Regions from separate parts of the Homo sapiens genome. Here region 2 is linked to region 1. The links are contacts of gene promoters, found by promoter capture Hi-C in human tissues and cell types (Jung and others, 2019). All regions are on one chromosome and are shown on one strand. The core of a region is centred on a gene start or on the middle of the fragment in contact, and the rest is flanking DNA. Distances in the headings are between cores, read along the strand shown.

Region 1 (3,282 bases), core at 234-2,733:
CATACCCAAACACCCCCCCAAGAGTGTGTGTGTGTGTGTGTTTGTGTGTGTGTGTGTGTGTCCTATTTAATTCCTTCTCCCCTCCCCCATTTCTACCTCTGGATTTGTAGGGCAGTTGAACATTCCTTTTCTACAACGTGCATTCATTTAATGGAAAACTTTTACTTAGTTGGCTTCAGCCTTTCCTTTTCTAGGATAAATCAAATGGTTTTCGTTCCGCACCCTAACGAGGCAAGAAATGACAAACTCCTCGGTCCCCCTAGGCGGGCGCCGGAGCACGACGGGTCAAGTCGGAATCGCCACGTGGAAACAGCTCTCAGCATCGCGAACTCCAAATCCCGACGTGCAACGCGGGGCGGGATGGGAACAGTTTGCAGGAACTGCAGAAGCCTGTGGCGTGGAACCTGGACAGGTCCCGTGCAGAAAGGGCGCTATGCCTTACAGAAAAGTTCCTTGCCTCCCAAATGACGCCCAGCCTTCCTGCCCCGTTCCACCGCTTTCCCACGGCCCCGCCCCTCTACAGAGTTGGTTTATTCCCCGCAGCCACCGCTTCTTTCCCCAAAGAGAAAAAGGTGCTGCTGCGCCTTTTCAAGCCTTGGACCTTTACGCCCGCACTTTCCTCTGCCCAGAAAGCTTACTGCTTAACTCCAGTACAACTTACTGGTGCGCCTGGATCCACCCCCGTCTCCACTCTGCTTAAGACACAGGAGGCTGATAGGCTGGAAGAATGAATAGATGACATAAAATAGTCATTGTTATCCCCACATAACTTGGCAGCAAGATTGTGGAACTCTGCAGTCAGACAGATCGGGTTCCAATACCAGTTCTTCCACTTACTAGCTGGGTAAACTTCCTTCATCCTTCTGAGAGTTCAAGAAACGTTTGCTGAACGAATGAATAAGATGTTTTGCAGAGATAATGCTTGTATCGTGCCTGGCCCAAAATCAGCGCTCAATGGAATTACTGGTCTCCCTACTATATGCCTGCCACCTTCTCTATTTATGCAGGTTCTGAGTTCCTCGCAGCGGGGGAACATCTGGCTCGGTTCTATCTCCCCAAGGCGCTGGGTTCCCAGAAGTTTCTAGAATGAATACGGAGGGCTACATATTTCACATGCGCGGGGCGGGGAAACTGCTGGGCGATTACAGATTCCCGATGGAGCTGGCCCCTTCGTGGCGACCACAAGTCCTATCACGCCACAAGAATCTCGGCTTGTTCACCTACAAATGAAGGCCGACGATACTTGCAGACCGAGTCTGACATCTATGGGACCCCACTCCTACCCTGCGCCTCAGGGGCCGGGACAACCGTGACCCGTACCGACTCCTCGCGCCTCCGGGATCAACCTCAGACCCCTGTGGGCTCCCGGGGAAGACGCATGCGCACTGCTCCCTCCTCGTCTCCTTCCCTTCGTTAATTAGTCCATCGCATTTCAAGTGCTGGATCCTTTTTGTCCCCTACTGCGTGCGGTGGCAGCTTCCTTGCGGAAGTGGTGACCGTGAGAGAAGAAGATGGCGGCCCCTGTAGTGGCGCCGCCTGGTGTGGTGGTTAGTCGGGCTAACAAGCGCAGCGGCGCGGGGCCGGGAGGCAGCGGTGGCGGGGGAGCCAGAGGGGCGGAGGAGGAACCGCCGCCGCCCCTACAAGCAGTTCTGGTGGCCGATAGCTTCGATCGCCGCTTCTTCCCCATCTCCAAGGACCAGCCTCGGGTGAGCGCCGCGCACGCGAGCAGCCAGAGGGCAGGAAGGGTGGCAGGGCTGGAGCAAGTTCTCATTTCGGCTAACTACAACAGCATGCCCTTGAAGGACCTGCGTCTATGCTGTTATCCTAAAACCGGATGCAGAGGGACTGTCTAAACCCTGATGACTGCTGACCAAGTTAGTGGCCGGCAGATTTGGGCATTCGTAATGCTGTCCACCTCGGGTTTGAAAGGAATGAAGAGAGCTAAATGTAGAAACAGCGCTTGAGAGAAGCCTTCACGCGGGGATTCAGTGCCCCTAGAAGAGGCTGCGCCGCTTTTAACCTTGCCGATGACGGTTGCTTAGGTGAAAAGAAACGACCTTTTGCCTCTGAAAGGGCGGTAATATGCCTTAAAAAGAGCGGGCTAGATCTCAGGCAGTGTATTTTTTTTTTCCTTCCAGGTTCTAATGATAGCCGGTGCTATCTGTCGAAAGGACAAAATGGGTTTAGTGGTTGATTGCCATCAGCCCCCGAGTTGTCTAGACAATGGGGTATTGGACTCAGCTGGGTCGTTCAGCAGTCAGTTCAGAAAGAGGGAACTGCATTGGATTTAAGGAAAATCCTCTCTAATTCCCTCGAAAAAGCCTAATGGCTGTTCATTTTTGACAAGTGACGGGAGATGGCTAACCTCTGACACTTAGAAAGGGATCAAGGAAGGAAATCTTATGGGGAAGAAGGCCTTAGCAATGCTTAAATTTATGGAAATATGATTGATTTCCAGTATTATCCTTTGCCAGCAGTGAACTGCCATTCTGTCACAGCTCTGTGTCTGATACAAGGCACATAGATTCTGTACTTACCATCCCCAAATTGCAATGTCTCAGACTCAGGCTTAGAGCATGGCATGAACATCAAAGGCAGGAACCTGTTTATCTTTGAATTGGAAAGATACAGCAAAATTACACTGTTTGGAAATACGAATAGAGGAGTGAAAATTGTTGCAGTGGGGTACCCAAAGGGATTCGAGACCTCAAGTTTTTTTTCATCTTGTATCCTTCAGGTCCTCTTGCCCCTGGCCAATGTGGCATTAATTGACTACACTCTGGAATTCCTGACTGCCACAGGTGTACAGGAAACATTTGTCTTTTGTTGCTGGAAAGCTGCTCAAATCAAAGAACATTTACTGTAAGGCCCTGCAACTTTTCTTTCCATGTTTCGCCATCTTTTTCCAGTTTTTTCAGGATGAATGTAACTAAGGGGAAATGTGAGAGGGGAAAAATGTGTCTACTTAGATGTCATTGTAAGTTCTAAGGGTATTTTCTACACTTATCAGGAGGTGAGCAGCTGAAACTTTGTATCTGTCTGTCTTGGGTTTTCTGTGACAAAGATTAAAGAATAAACTTGGGTTTTTTCTGAATCTCATTATAAAGTTTGGTGCCAGTGGACTTTGCTTTTATTTAATGGCTTCAGTATGGAAGTTACAATGATAACATCTTTGTTTTCCCACTGAGTTTCTAAATCTTGTTTGTTCTCACCTTCAAGGATATAAATGAGCTCCTTGTCATCTTTGTATTCCCACTGCCTAGCTCAGTCCCAAGCATATAG
Region 2 (4,416 bases), core at 671-3,170, 35 kb after region 1:
CATTCCCTCAAAACAAACAGCCTGGAGGCTCACGTCATCACCAGCTCTGGGCAACAGCTGACAGACCACTGCTTTCCTCCACCACCACTCCCCATGCTGGCTGCTGGCCTCTTGACAGGTTGATGGCTTGGCTGCAGGCTCCACAGGCAGCCTCAGAGCCCTGTCTCCTGACTTCTCTCTTGGAAGGCTGGGGCTGGCTCTTCTTAGGGCTGGGAGGAATGTCTCATCTTAATAGGGCCGGTGGCCTCAAGGGCAGTTGTAGCTCTCTTGGAGCTCTGGGACCTGGTACCGATAGTGTGTGAGCAGAGGGTGTCCCAGGCAGGTATTCAGTCCTGGTGGCCCCTTATATTCTCTTCAATGTAGTTCCAACATTGGTGGGAGTAGCCTTGCCATTAAGGAATGTATAATTTCCCCGGGGGCGCCAGGATCGTGAGATGAGTAATGTTGGTGGAGTGAGACAGTGCTATGAAGAGCTAGGCCTGGCTGGGAACGGGGTGGAGAGCAGTGGGGGAGGCACCTAAGTTGTTCTTTCCTTCTGGCCCCTTCCCACCCTACTCACCCTGCCCAGCAGCACTGGGAAAGTATAATCAGGGCCAAGTACCTTCTATATAGGGAATCTCTGGAAGGCCCTGCACTCATTCTAGGCTTTTAGTGGGTATTTAGTTCTAGGTGAAGGGGTGGGTAACACTTTACCTAAATTTCCCAAACTGCTCCTTGTCCTAATTAATGACCTCATCTGAGAAGGTAAGGAGAAAGTAAGCTACTCTTCGCGTCTGTTCTGATTAGTTTAGGCTGAGCTGAAGGTAGTGTTCGCTATTGTGCCTCATGAACTTCAGGTGCGACATACCTGGTGGCTGTCTAGTATTTCAGCCTTCCAAATTCTCCAGTCTTGCACCAGCTGAGTGAACGGAAGAGAAAATGGCCACATAAGAGTTTTGCAGGCCGGGCGCAGTGGCTCGCGCCTGTAATCCCAGCCTTTTGGGAGGCTGAGGCGGGCAGACCACCTGAGGTTAGGAGTTGGAGACCAGCCTGGCTAACGTGGCAAAACCCTGTATCTACTAAACATACAAAAAAAAAAATTAGCCAGGTGTGGTGGTGCAACCCTGTCAGGAGGCTGAGGCAGGAGAATCGCTTAAACCAGGGAGGAAGAGGTTGCAGGGAGCTGAAACTGTACCACTGCACTCCAGCCTTGGCCACAGAGCAAGACTCCGTCTCAAAGAGTTTTGCCGCTTCTAGCCCACTGAGGCCAGCAGAGAAAGTGCAAAAGCTTGGCCAGGGCCTTCAAGGGATTGGGAGGTACAGCTTTGGCTGAGAACCTAGAATGATGACTCAGGGTTGTCCTGAGAAGGGTCTCCCCGGGGCTGGCTCTGGTGGTGGCAAAGGGGGTCTGCAGAAGGGGGGAGCTCTCTGGGCTGTGCCTCCTCTCATTCTAGCCAGAAACTACCACGGTCTCTCTCATCCAGAGCCCACCTGACCTAGGCTAGGGACCTCTCTCCGGAAAGACCTAGCTCCATCCGGCCCTCCCCTTCACAGACATGGCCAACCTGTCTCTCCACGATCACGATGGCTCCAGTGGCGCCTCTGACCAGGACACACTGGCCCCTTTGCCGCACCCGGGGGCCGCCCCTTGGCCCATGGCTTTCCCGTACCAGTACCCGCCACCCCCGCACCCATACAACCCGCACCCGGGCTTCCCGGAGCTGGGCTACAGCTACGGCGGGGGCAGCGCCAGCAGTCAGCACAGCGAAGGTAAGGTAGAGGGGCCGTGGAGGAAGGCTATAGGTGGGCCCCAGGCTTCCCCCGCCCGCTCAGCCTGCCCCACCCCGGCCCTGTTTGCCTCCTACAGGCAGTCGGAGCAGTGGCTCCAACCGTAGCGGCAGCGATCGGAGGAAGGAGAAGGACCCGAAGGCCGGGGACTCCAAGTCCGGGGGCAGCGGCAGCGAATCGGACCACACCACACGCAGCAGCCTGCGGGGGCCGCGGGAGCGGGCGCCCAGCGAGCGCTCAGGGCCGGCGGCCAGCGAGCACAGCCACCGCAGCCACCATTCCCTGGCCAGCAGCCTTCGCAGCCACCACACACACCCGAGCTACGGTCCTCCCGGAGTGCCCCCTCTCTACGGCCCCCCCATGCTGATGATGCCCCCGCCGCCCGCGGCCATGGGGCCCCCAGGAGCCCCTCCGGGCCGCGACCTGGCCTCAGTGCCCCCGGAACTGACCGCCAGCAGACAGTCCTTCCGCATGGCCATGGGAAACCCCAGTGAGTTCTTTGTGGATGTGATGTGAGCAGGGCCCCTCCCCCAGCTCCATTCCGCTCCCACCCCAGCCGGCTGCGTTCCTCTCTCCATCCGTCCGTCTTTTTTACTTTGTCTGGTACCTGAAAGGGAAATAAAAGGAACTAAATCCAGGTGCGCTAACTGCTCGCAGGGTGCTGCGAGGGTGGGGTGCACCTACCGATTGGCTCTGCAGCCCCCTAACCTGCCTCTGGCCCCAGTTCGTTTCCTCTGCCCACTAATCCCTGCGCAGGACTTCCCAGGACCCCTTTTGTCTCTGGGACCAGACTTGTTGGTGCTACCCCTTACTCCCCTCTGCAACCCCCATTTTGGGAGTTGACCCCAGCAATGACCTTGGTGGCACGCTCACTCCCTCATTCTCTCGTTTCCCCTTTAGCTCCCTTTCACCATTTATTCAGCTACATCATCCCTCTATTAACCCCACCCCATCAGGCACGTGTGCAAACCTCTTGACTTTACCCCACATTACTGAAACCAAAATATATTTGCTTCATCTGCCCCTACTAACCATCCCCCTGCCTGCTGCCTCAGTCCTGCAACCTAAAGCTGTAGTCGCCTCCAATAGCCATCCATGCCATCCCTGCCTGTGCCTAGATCAGAGGCCCAGAGGGCCCCCTCAGTTGCCTGAGCAGCTGGTGGCTTCCAGGGAGCATCTCTGCTCTACCCCTGCCCCATGCCTGCCCTGCGTGCTGGTTCCTTCAGACCCCTAACCCTACTAACCAGCAGGCTCATCTCACCTCCAGGCCTGAAACATTTCTTTTCTTTCTTTTTTCCTCCCCCAATTTACCCTGGGCCTGGAGCAGCCAAGAATTTCGGGCTGTTTGACTTTCTGTGAGCCCCCAGCGAGGGGAGGCCCAGCCTCCGAGGAGACCAGGAACCCTGCTTCAGCAGCCCCTCAGGGCTTCCCAAGGATGTCCAGCCCCCACACCCACACGTTAACATAATGAGTCACTAGGCTTCTGGGGAGGGCCCAACTTCACCCATGCATGAGAGACTCTCCTCCTTTCCAGAGAGAATCGGATCGCACCACGTGTGGCAGCCTGCGGCGGGGGGAGGGGGGCCTCTTTAGCTCTCTTTATCTTTCTCTCTCACTCATGTATGCATACATGCACAGAGATGCATACACAGGTGCCTATGCAAGTTCATTTAAGCCTCAGGGCTGGTCCCTGCCCAAAGGGCTGGACCCTCCTAATCCTCTCCTAGGTTGTGGGGCTGGTCCCCTGACACCCTTCTCCCCTTCCTGGTAGACCTTAAACCTCGCACACATGTCCCCAGCATTTTCTCACCTGGATAAAGCCCATAAGCTGGGTCTCAGGCTGGGCTCAGCAAAGGACTCGCCTTGCAACCGACAGGCCATTCCCACCCCCACACACAACCTCCCCTGTTTTCACATTCACCATGGCATCCCAGAGCAAGGACACAGGAGCCCACAGGCCAGTTGAGGTTGGGCAAGGAGACTTCCAGGACTTCCAGACAGAGTACCAGGTTTTATTTTTCACCTTATTCTCTACTTTAAACAAATCATAACTTTCTCTTTAAGCCTCTGCTATAAATTCTCCTGGCTCTCCTGGGCTTCCATATTTTGGGGGCTGGGGTGTCAAAAGTGAGATGAAGTTCTTAGCTCCAGGTTTTGGGGTAAACCAAGGTAGGAACATTTTGGCATTTATTTCAATTAACAATACTTCCTTGGACGGGTGCGGTGGCTCACGTCTGTAATCCCAGCACTTTGGGAGGCTGAGACAGGTGGATCACTTGAGGTCGGGAGTTCGAGACCAGCCTGGCCAACATAGCAAAACCCTGTCTCTACTAAAAATACAAAAATTAGATGGGTGTTTTGGCACCTGCCTGTAATCTCAGCTACTCAGGAGGCTGAGGCACAAGAATCGCTTGAATCCAGGAAGCAAGCGGAGGTTGCAGTGAGTTGAGATCGCACTCCAGCCTGGGTGACAGAGTGAGATTCTGTCTCAAAAGCAAACTAACAAAGAAAAACAATACTTCCTGGGGTTTTGGTGTGCAGAGGGCTTTGTTGGAAGTGTGACTCAATCTTGCCTGCCTTCTGGGAGCTCTAGAATTGTTCCCAACCCAGTCCATGGCTTCTAGCCACCACTACAGGGCTGTTTCATGT

Evidence for each region. The method cuts DNA at HindIII sites, captures the fragments that hold promoters and counts their contacts. A contact is called where the count stands out against the background at its distance.
Region 2: a contact is called between a fragment that was not itself captured here and the fragment with the promoter of EIF2B5 in region 1, in 4 of the 25 tissues and cell types used here (dorsolateral prefrontal cortex, hippocampus, neural progenitor cells and 1 more).

What each region holds. Positions count from the first base shown.
Region 1 is chr3:184,133,875-184,137,156 of GRCh38, forward strand. EIF2B5 (eukaryotic translation initiation factor 2B subunit epsilon) reads left to right here and starts at 1,484. Exons shown (of 16, transcript NM_003907.3): 1 at 1,484-1,706; 2 at 2,738-2,862. The coding sequence starts at 1,512. It overlaps EIF2B5-DT (EIF2B5 divergent transcript), which reads right to left and starts at 1,387. Exons shown (of 2, transcript NR_183721.1): 1 at 662-1,387; 2 at 1-404. RefSeq lists enhancers at 1-514, 1,384-1,443, 1,764-1,833 and a silencer at 1,584-1,693. The HindIII fragment of the contact is 14,690 bases long and covers 1-3,282 here.
Region 2 is chr3:184,168,473-184,172,888 of GRCh38, forward strand. It overlaps DVL3 (dishevelled segment polarity protein 3), which reads left to right. Exons shown (of 15, transcript NM_004423.4): 14 at 1,534-1,749; 15 at 1,847-4,416. The coding sequence ends at 2,283. Among named protein-coding and RNA genes, the nearest start is that of AP2M1, 4.2 kb to the right of the region's middle. RefSeq lists an enhancer at 3,069-3,363. The HindIII fragment of the contact is 7,229 bases long and covers 1-4,416 here.